4 separate regions of the Homo sapiens genome follow, and all the other regions are linked to region 4. The links are contacts of gene promoters, found by promoter capture Hi-C in blood cells and fetal thymus (Javierre and others, 2016). All regions are on one chromosome and are shown on one strand. Each heading gives the region's core, a stretch centred on a gene start or on the middle of the fragment in contact. The rest is flanking DNA. Distances are from core to core; before and after follow the strand shown.

Region 1 (2,700 bases), core at 193-2,692, 240 kb after region 4:
CAGCAGGGATGGAGGGCCCACTGTGTGCCTGCCCCAGCCTCAGCACCCTACAGCGCTGGACACACTCACTCCCCGCTCACGGGAGCCCCCAGGCACACAAGTCAGCACCCCATTCTGTGGATCCAGAATCCGCAGCCACCCCTCTGCTATGCCACCCAGCCCCGCGTTCTCCTAGACAGGACAGCTGCCCACCTTCCCCTAGGCCTGGCAGAGGCCTTGGAGGCCAACTTGGAAGGGCGGAGGGAAAGGAAATGGAGGTGCTGCATGCTGCGTGAGCCCCAATGGTGGCCCGTGAAGGCCCACAGGAGGGAGCAGGCAGGCGGGAGGTGGGTAGGGGCCTGAAGGGCAGGGGCCCATGCTAGGGGTGGTGATGAAGACCCTGTCTTGCCCACTCGCCCACTGCCTTGTTGGCCATCATGCTGCCTCCCCACACACCAGGTGCTCCTAGGGCCAGCGCTGTGCCTGTCGGTCCCACCGGGTCCCCAGCACCCAGCACAGGAGAGGCTGGGCGCATGCGGGCAGGTGCGAGGTACTGCAGCGCATTCGCGGACTGACCACTGCATGTGCCTGGCCTCCGGCCACAGCCCGACCCCCTCACTGAGCCAGTTTCATCCTGACAGTACCCTGAGGCTGAAATCATTGTCCCCTCTTTAAAGATACGTAAACCCATGAAAGAAAGCTGGACAGAGCAGGCAGGTGACACAGAGGTGGGTGCAAGGTCCTGAGTCCCTCCACAAAGATACAGCGGGTTCCCCTCCAGACTGCAGACAGGCTCCCGGGCTCCAGAGGCAGGCCCTGACCATCCCGGTGCCACGGGCTCACAGGTTCTGAAGTCAGGGGCACCCAGGCACAGAGAGGAAACAGGCCTGGGCACAAGGCAGGCTCAAGGTCACTTTGCTACTGCAGGAAGTGCAGGACTCTGCCTGGGGCTTTGATCCCAAGCAGGTGCCTTCTCCACTCAGACCCTCGTTCCCTTCTGTCAATGAAGGAGGCCAGATGGCACGCGGGCCCTTCCGGGAAGCGGTGGGGCTCCTCCAGGGGCCGCCCTGCGCCCGCTGAAGCGCCGCCCAGACACACCTCCGGACAGGGAAGTGTGCTGGGGCCTCACCCACGCCGCCCTGGGTCCGGAGCCTTAAAATGTGCGCTCGATGGAGGCCATCCGCGAAGGCCGCCATACAGCAAAGGGAACAGAAAGCGAGAGCCCCGCGGCCGCAGGTCCCAAGACGGGGACTCGAACCGGCGGGGAGGCGCGCAGCTCCCGACTCCCTGCTGCTGCGTCCGACCGCCTCTAGGACCCAGGGGAGCGCCCTGAGCGCGGCACCTCGCTGGCCAATGGGAGAGCGCGACGGCGATACATTTGCATGTGGGCGCGCCGCGGCCAATGGGCGGCGGGCGCGCGGGCGCGCGGGCAGGGGGTGGGGCGCTTCGCGGCGGCGGGCGCAGTCTGAGGATGGCCGCGGCCGCGGCCGGTGGAGCCCCGGGCCCGGCCCCCGGCCCCGCCGGGCCCCCGCCACCCGCCGCGCCGACCTCGGCCGCTCGGGCCCCGCCGCAGGCGCTGCGGAGGCGCGGGGACTCGCGGCGCCGCCAGGCCGCGCTTTTCTTCCTCAACAACATCTCCCTGGACGGGCGGCCCCCGAGCCTGGGCCCGGGCGGAGAGAAGCCCCCGCCGCCGCCCGCCGAGGCCCGCGAACCGCCAGCGCCGCCGCCGCCGGAGCCCCCCACCGGGCTGCCCGCCAGGACCCCCGCGCCCCAGGGCCTGCTCAGCCCCACGCAGGTGCCCACCGGCCTCGGCCTGGATGGGCAGCGCCAGAGGTGAGTGGGGGCCCGGCCAGGTCAGCCCAGGACGCGGGGTACAGGGACGGGGACGGGGGCCGGATCAGCCCAGGACTAGGGGTCAGGATTACTTGGGGCCTCATCAGCCCAGGACAAGGGGGTCAGGTGACCTGGGGCCTTGTCAGCCCTGGACAGAGGCCAGGACAAAGGGGTTGGGTTCACCTGGGGCCTTGTCAGCCCTGGACAGAGGTTCAGGTGACCTGAGCCCCTGTCAACCCAGGACACAGGGGTCAGGGTCAGTCTGGGCCCTCATCAGCCCAGGACACAGGGGTTGGGTTCACCTGGGACCTTGTCAGTCCTGGATACAGAACTGGGGGTTCCTGGGCTGGCTGAGGGTTTCCTCAGGCCCTGTCACCCCCCACACATAGGGTTCATTGTCCCCTGAATTCTCCCAGCCCCTGAATACGGGGTCTGGATCTCCACGTTGTCAGTGCTCTGAAATGGGTTTTAGGGTTCAGCCCTTATTACCCCTGAGACCCCCAGCCCTGTGGGTTCTGGACATGCCCCCACCCCCATCCACTGGTACCAGTGCCCGGGACACAGGGACACATGGACAGCCCTGTGCATCTCTTCGCATTCTTTGAACCGGGCCACACCGTCCATGCCCACCTCCTCAGACCCAGCATGTGGGCCGGGGTCCTCCTGGCACTGTCACTGACACCTGTTCCCAGAGGCCCCTGCACAGCCACATCTCCCATCCCACAGCCACTGGTCTCTGGCACCCCTCCTCTCCCTGTCACTTCCCTGCTGAGCCCCGCCCTTCCCCACATCACTCTCAGCTCGGTATCTTTGGGTCTGTCACACCCTGGGTCTCCACTGCTCCCCCTGCCTTGATTCCATTTCTGGGAACCACCTCAGCCCATCCCA
Region 2 (2,700 bases), core at 198-2,697, 220 kb before region 4:
CACCTGGCAATCATTACTTCTTAAAATGTCTTTCTCCCCATCCTTCCACCCCCAGGGGACTTCAAATCACACTGCTTGAAGCGGCCCCACAGCTCACTGATGCTCTGCTCACTCTCTTAGCCTTCCCTCTCTGTTTTACGTTAGACGACTTCTGTTGCCATGTCCTTGAGAGTTTTAAGTCCTTGCTTTCCTCCTTGGTAGTGTTTTCTGAAACCTGATGTTTTGCCCAAAACTGATATATTATTTTCATGTATACATGTGTGAGTTTAGATTTGCATGGCTGAGCTTTCATAGCCCATCGTTGAATCATTGTAATATATTGGTCTGTGTCTAAACTGTGATGAAATGAGCGAAAGATTCAGACCCGGCTTAGAAGACGATGTGCAAGTCACAGGCCTTTAAGTGTCCTAATGCCTAGACAGAGAACAGACAACCACTGAGTGAGATGGGAATGTGGGTGAGAGGTTAAGTACAGGAATTATTTCAAGATTGCAAAAATAAGTCTCTTAAAGACCACATATTGCATAGTTCCCTTAACAGGGAAGGCCCAGCCTAGGCAAACTCCTGGACACAGAAGATTAGTGGCTGCAGGCGGGGGAGGGGCAGTGTGCTGACTGCTACAGGAGACCGGTGGTGAATGCAGCGGTGGAGGCGGGCCCAGCGCTGGGAATGTACCACCACCGTCGCGCTGTGCATTTTTTTTTTTTTTTTGAGATGAAGTCTGGCTCTGTTGCCCAGGCTGGAGTGCAGTGGCAAGATCTCGACTCACTGCAACCTCCGCCTCCCGGGTTCAAGCGATTCTCCTGCCTCAGCCTCCCGAGTAGCTGGGATTACAGGCACGCACTACCACGTCCAGCTAATTTTTGTATTTTTAGTAGAGACGGGGTTTCACCATGTTGGCCAGGCTGGTCTCGATCTCCTGACCTCCTGATCCACCTGCCTCGGCCTCCCAAAGTACTGGGATTACAGGCATGAGCCACAGAACCCGGCCATGCGCTGCGCATTTTACGCGGATGAAGCGGATGGCCTGGGCACTGTGGACTGTGGGTCCAGGGAGCTGTTTTGACAACGTCTTCATTCCTGCCGCTGTAATGGGGCGCACGTGCACGCACGGACGTGGCTTCTCCCCAGGGTGTCACCGCGTAGGTATCACGCTGATTCCAGCGCAGCCGCCCTCGCCGGGCCTCAGCGGGGAGTGGCCGGGCAGCAGGGGCGTGGCTGGGAACCGGGCGTGGCCTGAGCTGGGGGCGTGGCCTAGCTGTGGGGGCGTGGCTGGGCCGTGGGGGCGGGCCCTCCGCGCAAGCATCCGCCGACGTGGGGCGGGGCCGGGCGTGCGGGCGGTTGGGCGGGGGCGGGGCCGGCGGCGGCGGGTAACGGAGGGGGCGGGGCTGGCGCAGGGGTGGGGTTGCCGTTGCGGGGCGGGGCGGCGCAGGCGCTGTGCGCGGCACTCAGCGGTTTTCCCTCCCCCAACGGCGCGCCGGCTGTGGCCGGCGCAGAGTAGTGCTCGGGCCGGGGGTCGCCTCCCGCCTCCCGCCTCCCGCCTCCCGCCGCCCGCCGCCCGCGTCGCCCTCGCCGCCGTTGGGCCGCGCCGCGCCGCCATGTCGGGCCCCGGACCGCGGGAGCCGCCGCCGGAGGCAGGCGCGGCAGGCGGCGAGGCGGCCGTCGAGGGCGCGGGCGGCGGGGACGCGGCGCTGGGCGAGCCGGGGCTGAGCTTCACGACCACCGACCTGAGCCTGGTGGAGATGACGGAGGTGGAGTACACGCAGCTGCAGCACATCCTCTGCTCGCACATGGAGGCGGCGGCTGACGGCGAGCTCGAGACGCGCCTCAACTCGGCGCTGCTGGCGGCGGCGGGCCCGGGCGCAGGCGCGGGCGGCTTCGCGGCGGGCGGTCAGGGGGGCGCGGCGCCCGTGTACCCCGTGCTGTGCCCGTCCGCGCTGGCGGCCGACGCGCCCTGCCTGGGCCACATCGACTTCCAGGAGCTGCGCATGATGCTGCTAAGCGAGGCGGGCGCGGCGGAGAAGACGTCGGGCGGCGGGGACGGAGCGAGGGCCCGGGCCGACGGCGCCGCCAAGGAGGGCGCGGGCGCGGCTGCGGCTGCGGCTGGACCCGACGGCGCGCCCGAGGCCCGGGCCAAGCCGGCCGTGCGCGTCCGCCTGGAGGACCGCTTCAACAGCATCCCCGCCGAGCCGCCGCCCGCGCCGCGCGGCCCCGAGCCCCCCGAGCCGGGCGGGGCGCTCAACAAGTGCGTGCCCGGCGGCCGGGGGCTGGCGGGGCCCGGGTGGAGGCCGAGGCCGGGGCCGGGGCCGGGGCGGAGGCAAAGGGGGCCCTCGCTGTGCACGCCCCCAGCCTGCCCTCCCGGCGGCACAGGGCGCGGACCTCACCGGGTCTGGGGCCGCCCCGAAAGGCTGTGTGCGCTGTGCGGGCCCCGGGGAGCAGGTACTTCCAGAAACTAAACACCCCCTCCCTCAGTGGCCCCGCCTGGAGTGGGGCCGAGCGCGCAGAATTCCTGGGAACCATGTGCTCCGGGTGGCACTCTTGGATGTCAGGGAAGCCTAGGAAGGCCCGACGGGGGTTTGCAGGCTTTGAGCTCTAAAATGAGGCTCCAGCCTGCAGCCGCCCCCTTGGCGACCCTCAGGGATGGCTGTGGAAGGGGCTGCGTCCGCAGTTTTCTGCTCATCCCAGCCTGTAGTTGCCCAT
Region 3 (2,700 bases), core at 201-2,700, 170 kb before region 4:
AGGCCACTGGAGCCTGGAGGGACATCAGCTGTGACACCAGCCCTACCAGCCACCCAACAGGACCCCGGTCCATACCAAAGACTCAAAGTCAAATGAATTTATTCAGAAAAGGCCTTGCTTGGTATCAGACTAAGAAAAGCAGCCCTGCCCGCCGCCCCCCACTCCAGAAGGGTCAATTTACAAAGACAGGGGCGCAGGGGAGAGCTGGGTGGGGAAGACACAGCCAGGCCAGGAGGCTTCTGCAGGCCTTGGGCTTCCCTGAGGGCCTCGCGGCTTCTGGTGGCTGCTATAGTGGCCCCACAGGAGGCCAGCACTGTGGGTCATGGGTCACGGGTCACGAAGCAGAGCCTGAGGGGAGCCCGCAGCAGCTCCGGAGGCCCCAGCCCCTGCAGCAGGGACAGGAGGACCAAGACGCCGACGGGCACTCCTTTCCTTAAGGCTTCCCAGACTTGGCAGAAGACTCCACCTCTGCGTCCTGCAACTCTGCTGCCTCCCCCGCCTTGGCTGGCTCATCCCTTGTAGGTCCTGCCGGGCTGGGGCCTGGGGTCTCCGATGGGCTCTCGGCTGGCTCGTCCCCTGCAGGTCCTGCCGGGCGGGGGCCTGGGGTCTCCGATGGGCTCTCGGCTGGCTCGTCCCCTGCAGGTCCTGCCGGGCGGGGGCCTGGGGTCTCCGATGGGCTCTCGGCTGGCTCATCCCTTGTAGGTCCTGCCGGGCTGGGGCCTGGGGTCTCCGATGGGCTCTCGGCTGGCTCGTCCCCTGCAGGTCCTGCCGGGCGGGGGCCTGGGGTCTCCGATGGGCTCTCGGCTGGCTCGTCCCCTGCAGGTCCTGCTGGGCGGGGGCCTGGGGTCTCCGATGGGCTCTCGGCTGGCTCGTCCCCTGCAGGTCCTGCTGGGCTGGGGCCTGGGGTCTCCGATGGGCTCCCAGGGGTACCTTCTTTGGGCCCCGTTCGACCTTCTGTGTCCTCCTCAACCCCGTTCTCACTGTGTCCAGCCTTGGGGTGCCCCGATGGGGCAGGGGACCCGGCAAGGGCCAAGGTCTGGGCACCACCACTGGCCACCGCAGCACTGTCCCCAGCACCCTCATCCACCTTCCTCCGCTTCCTCACCTTGTCGGCCACCCTGGCTCCCAGGGGTTGGCGGCAGGGCTGCACTGCCTCCCCAGGGTCCTGACCGCCCACTTCCTGGGTCCCCGTCCTGAGGCTGCCCTGGCTGAGGGCACACCCCTCCAAATTCAGAGCGATCTTCTCCACCTCTGAGGCACTCTGAGGGCCTGGCTCTGTGGGCGGCTGCTCCCGCCGGCTCAGCTCCAGCTTCCTCTTCTTGCTCTCTTTGGGGCTTAAGGGCTCCGGCCTATCTTCCCCGTGGCCCCCTGCCTCATCCCCCTGGCTCCTCTCCAGGGGTCCCGCATCCTGGGGCTCCACGCTCCGTGGCTGGGGCCCCTCGTCCACCCTGCCCCCACCCTTGCTATGCTCTGGCCCACAGGTCCGACCCTGGGTGCTGGCCTCGTGGTCGGGGTCCCCGGGGCTTCCTTCCTCCTCCACCTTCCTGGAGCCCTCGAGCGGATGGGGCAGAGAGCTGGGCTTGAACCTCCGCAGCTTGTCTTGGGGCCCCCAGACGAACTTGCAGCGGGGCCGGAAGTGCTCCCAGGCGAAGTGCACCAGCTGGCGGCGCTGGTGTCGGCAGCGCACGGCGAACATGAAGTAGTCCAGGGCACTCTGCCGCACCCCCGGCAGCTCCCGCCGCACCAGCGTCTCCTCCAGGAAGAAGCGGACCAGCGGCGCCTGGAAGTGCTCGAGGCCCAGCTCACCCAGCGACTTGAGGATGCGTGTGATGCGGAGGTTGTTGTGGCTGCGCCTGCGAGAGATCCGGGTCAGGAGAGGTCAATGGCTGGGGCCCCTCCTGCTGGGCCGCACCCCGCCCTGGCCTGCCCTCCCACCCGGCTCCACGAGGTCTCCCCACCCTGGCCCACGATTCAGTCTCTCTCTCCATTTACCTCTCTGGGCCCAGGGGAGGACTCATGCCATCCCTGTGAAAATGGCCTGTGGGCCCTAGACACACGGGGGTTAGGGGGATGCTGACGCATCACCTAGAGGGTGGCTGTACCCCGAGTCCCCCTGGTGGGGAGGAGCTGGCTGGATGAGAGCCACAAGGGGCCCCTGCAGGGTACAGGCGCCTCGAACACCCTGTGAGAACTGGCTGTACCGCCTGCAGGTTCTCCATCACCCCTGCTTGCTTCTCTATGTGGACTGCCACCTCCTGGGTGCAGGAAGAGCATTCTTTACCTTCTCACCAACCCTATCGGGGAGGGACCGCCCGGCTCTACAGGCAGCAAGGAGGGGACTCAGGGCCTTGGTCCATTGCCCAAACAGCCCTGGAGTTCTCCGTCTGCAGCAGCGCTCTGTGACCTGCCCGAAACCTGACGTGGCCCTGTTCTGCGCCGGGGTGGGGGTGGGCGGGAGCAGCCGGGCCTCACCAGTTCAGGTTCTGGAAGCGCTTCTGGTAGTTCTGTGCTCGGCCCACCGTGCCCGTGCCTCGGTCCTCCAGCCGGATCCCGTAGAAGCCCAGCATGAGCTCGTAGGCCCGGACAAGCCGCTCCTGGATCTCCTGGGAGCTTTTAAACACCTGGAAAAGACCCCCTTGGAGAGCTCAGGCACCATCCCTGAAGCCCCGGTTCCTGAGTGTGGGGGTGGCCGTGGGTCCC
Region 4 (2,700 bases), core at 136-2,635:
TAATGGCCACCTCGTGGGGTTGCTAGGGACTGAATGAGACGATGCTCAAAGCAGGGGTACCATGCCCGGCACATTCCAGCACTCAACACCTAACCCCTGCTGTCACTGTCCTTGTCATTATTACCAGATTCACAAGCGGAGCCGGCTAAGGCCAAGGAGCTGTCCTCTGAGATCCATTTGCTCCCGCTGCTGGGAATGAAAACGTCGCTGACACCGGGCTCTGCAGAGCCAGTTTCTGATTAGATGGAGGTAACCCAAGTTCCAAAAACCACAGCTGAGGAGCAGCAGCTGACAAGCTGGTTGCATGGATGTGGAAAACTACCGCGTTCCAGCCGCCTCCAGACAGAAACAGGACGCATAGCCAGGTCCCACGGCAGCTCCAAAGAGGGCCTTGCACGCCAAGCGGGGCACCCCCCAGCCTGAGGGTTCACCAACCACGCGGACCACGCGGAAACCTAGCTGGGCTTCTCTCTCCCCTCGGGGCGCCAGTGCGGGAGGCGGTTTCTCCCTTGGAAGTGGAAGTCAGATCTGCTTCCAGGTTCCCGGTCTAGGGCCGGTCTAGGGCAGCTAAGCCTGCCTGCTCCTTCCTTTCCATCCTCCCTGGTCAGGGGAGCCCAACAGCAACGCGAGGGCACCCGACCCTCTGCCTGCACCTGGAGGGCGCCCGGGTCCCCCCAAGCCACGGCCAGGACGTCGCGTGGTGGGGCAGGGAAAGGGGCGCCGCCGCTGCTGGAAACTAGCCCTGTGCGCTCCGCCCGCGCTCCCCTCCCGGAGATGTCTCGAGCGCCTCTGGCGCGAACAAAGCCCGGCCGCCCCCGAGAAACTTCCGTGCATGAAGGTTTCCTCCTTGACTCGGCAGCAGCGGCCGCCGCAGGTGGGTGACTCCGCAACTCTGGAGCTCCGCGGAGGCGCGTTCGTCCCCAGCTGGATCTGTGGGGCCTGCGCCTGCGCGCGCTCCGGGCCACCTGCCCAGGTCACCTGCCCCGGCCACTCCGACAGTCCCTGCCAGGGCCGCAGCCCCTGCTCACCCGCTTCCCCCCGGCACCCGCTGCAGCGTGGGGCCCCTTCGCCTCGGTCCTCCTGCGGGCGACTCGGGAGCTCCTACCTGCGCAGCCGGCGGCGGGAAGCGGCGAATTTGGCCTCCGATTCCGCTCGGTCCTGCCCTCCCCCGCGGAGAGGCTCGGGGCGCTCGGCCGGTGCCCAGGCCTCCCGCCCCCGCGCGCATCCCCCCGGCGCTCCAGCCCCTGCCCACGATGGCGGCACCTGCCGCGCTCCTACGCCAGCAGGTCGGGCCCTGTGCACCCGCGCCAGCTCCCCGCTCCCCGCGCACTCACCGTCCCCGTCTCGAGGGCCCGGCCGCCGCGCCGCGCAGCGCTCCACGCTCTGGCCTCCCCGGCAGCCACGCGCCGCTTCATTCATCCGCTGGGGCCGCCCCCGCCGCAGAGGGAGGGGCGGGGTTTCCTGCGCGGGGCCCGCCTCACCCCCCACGGCCAATGGCAGCGGCGACCGCCCCCTCCTCCCCCCCAGGGCACAGAGGCGGGAACGCGCGGCGGGGGACCAGGGCGTCTCTCTCCGGAGCGCTGCCGCCTCCTGGACTCCCCGCTCCAGCTCCAAGGACCGGCATCGCTGCCGCAGCCGGGAGGCCGAGAACGCGCGGTGGCGACGCCGCCCCAGGCCACGCGGCGAGGCGGTTCCGAACGGACTCGGGATTCGCTCCTGGGCGCTGTGGGGCCGAGTGGAGCCAAGCGGCCGTTTTTCAGCTCCGCCCTTCCGAAAGGCTGCCGCAGGGTCGGGGCCACGTGGGGCCCGCGGCAGAGGGGCTGGGGGAACGCCACGGGCGGCCCTGGTGAAGGTGCCCGCCGGTCTCGGCCTGACCCCCAGGCCCTGTTCTGGCACGCGCCCCACCTGCGCGCACAGTGAGACCGGCGCCCTAGCCTGGGAATCCGGGGAATCTCCAGCCCGTTGCCTTTTCCATAACCCCGTCTTCTTTTTCACACTAGCTCTGAGGGTGGAAGGCAGGGAGGTGCCAGCCACGTTCCCTTCCACAGAGGGAACTCCCTGTTGGAATTCCTACCCCGGCTTCCTGCCGTCTGTCCTGGAACACATTGCTCCAGGCCTCCGAGCCTCAGTTTCCTCGTTTGCAAAATGGGGGCGATAACAGAGCGTCCTCAAAGGGGATAAGACGGAAGAAGTTGGCTCATATCAGGGCTCATAATTGTTGCCAAGTATTAACAGGTAACCACAATCACACTCCACAAAGCTTCCCTTTTAGTGTCAGTGAAATTAATTTAAAAGAAGTTTCCGAAAGTCAAGTGTGTGTGTGTGAATCCTGAGATAAGTCAGGTAAGGGGGGAAATGACCACCTCACGGCCCCAGGCTGGTGAGGAAGTCCTAGCCACGGAGGCGGTGCTGCAGGACCTGGCCTGGTGGCATAGCGTGGCGGGCGGGTTCACCGTGGAGAGACGAAGGAGGTGCTGCGGCTTGTGAGAAAAGGCCCACAACCCCATGCAGTTATTTATGAAATGGTTTTCCTTCCTCCAGGGCTTGGGGCTCCTGCCCACTCGTATCAGGTCCCGGGACCCCCCCGGTGGTGTCCTCAGGGCTCCCGCCGTCCCAGGCCGCCCTCCACTTCTGGAAGCAGACACGAGGCCACGAGACCCACTGCTTTTGGGTATCTGCTTTCATTCCTGACACTGCCCT

Evidence for each region. The method cuts DNA at HindIII sites, captures the fragments that hold promoters and counts their contacts. A CHiCAGO score of 5 or more calls a contact.
Region 1: a contact is called between the fragment with the promoter of CABLES2 here and the fragment with the promoter of SLCO4A1 in region 4, in 3 of 17 cell types (endothelial precursors, M0 macrophages and M1 macrophages). The highest score is 6.3, in endothelial precursors.
Region 2: a contact is called between the fragment with the promoter of TCFL5 here and the fragment with the promoter of SLCO4A1 in region 4, in 3 of 17 cell types (naive CD4 T cells, monocytes and non-activated CD4 T cells). The highest score is 5.9, in naive CD4 T cells.
Region 3: a contact is called between a fragment that was not itself captured here and the fragment with the promoter of SLCO4A1 in region 4, in 9 of 17 cell types (naive CD4 T cells, total CD8 T cells, naive B cells and 6 more). The highest score is 8.6, in naive CD4 T cells.

Annotation. Positions count from the first base shown.
Region 1 is chr20:62,406,027-62,408,726 of GRCh38, reverse strand. CABLES2 (Cdk5 and Abl enzyme substrate 2) reads left to right here and starts at 1,442. Exons shown (of 10, transcript NM_031215.3): 1 at 1,442-1,812. The coding sequence starts at 1,451. It overlaps LOC105372709 (a long non-coding RNA gene), which reads left to right and starts at 1,833. Exons shown (of 2, transcript XR_936967.3): 1 at 1,833-2,700. RefSeq lists a silencer at 1,276-1,525. The HindIII fragment of the contact is 20,791 bases long and covers 1-2,700 here.
Region 2 is chr20:62,860,569-62,863,268 of GRCh38, reverse strand. It overlaps TCFL5 (transcription factor like 5), which reads left to right and starts at 1,447. Exons shown (of 6, transcript NM_006602.4): 1 at 1,447-2,245. The coding sequence starts at 1,599. LOC105372717 (a long non-coding RNA gene) reads right to left here and starts at 1,834. Exons shown (of 4, transcript XR_936989.4): 1 at 1,728-1,834. RefSeq lists silencers at 1,039-1,138, 1,189-1,378, 1,879-2,028 and an enhancer at 1,000-1,654. The HindIII fragment of the contact is 6,144 bases long and covers 1-2,700 here.
Region 3 is chr20:62,811,383-62,814,082 of GRCh38, reverse strand. OGFR (opioid growth factor receptor) reads right to left here. Exons shown (of 7, transcript NM_007346.4): 6 at 2,473-2,621; 7 at 83-1,853. The coding sequence ends at 434. Among named protein-coding and RNA genes, the nearest start is that of COL9A3, 4.3 kb to the left of the region's middle. The HindIII fragment of the contact is 7,148 bases long and covers 1-2,700 here.
Region 4 is chr20:62,641,188-62,643,887 of GRCh38, reverse strand. SLCO4A1 (solute carrier organic anion transporter family member 4A1) reads right to left here and starts at 1,385. Exons shown (of 12, transcript NM_016354.4): 1 at 1,335-1,385. LOC124904949 (a long non-coding RNA gene) reads left to right here and starts at 1,551. Exons shown (of 2, transcript XR_007067711.1): 1 at 1,551-2,235; 2 at 2,542-2,700. RefSeq lists a silencer at 948-1,897. The HindIII fragment of the contact is 5,977 bases long and covers 1-2,262 here.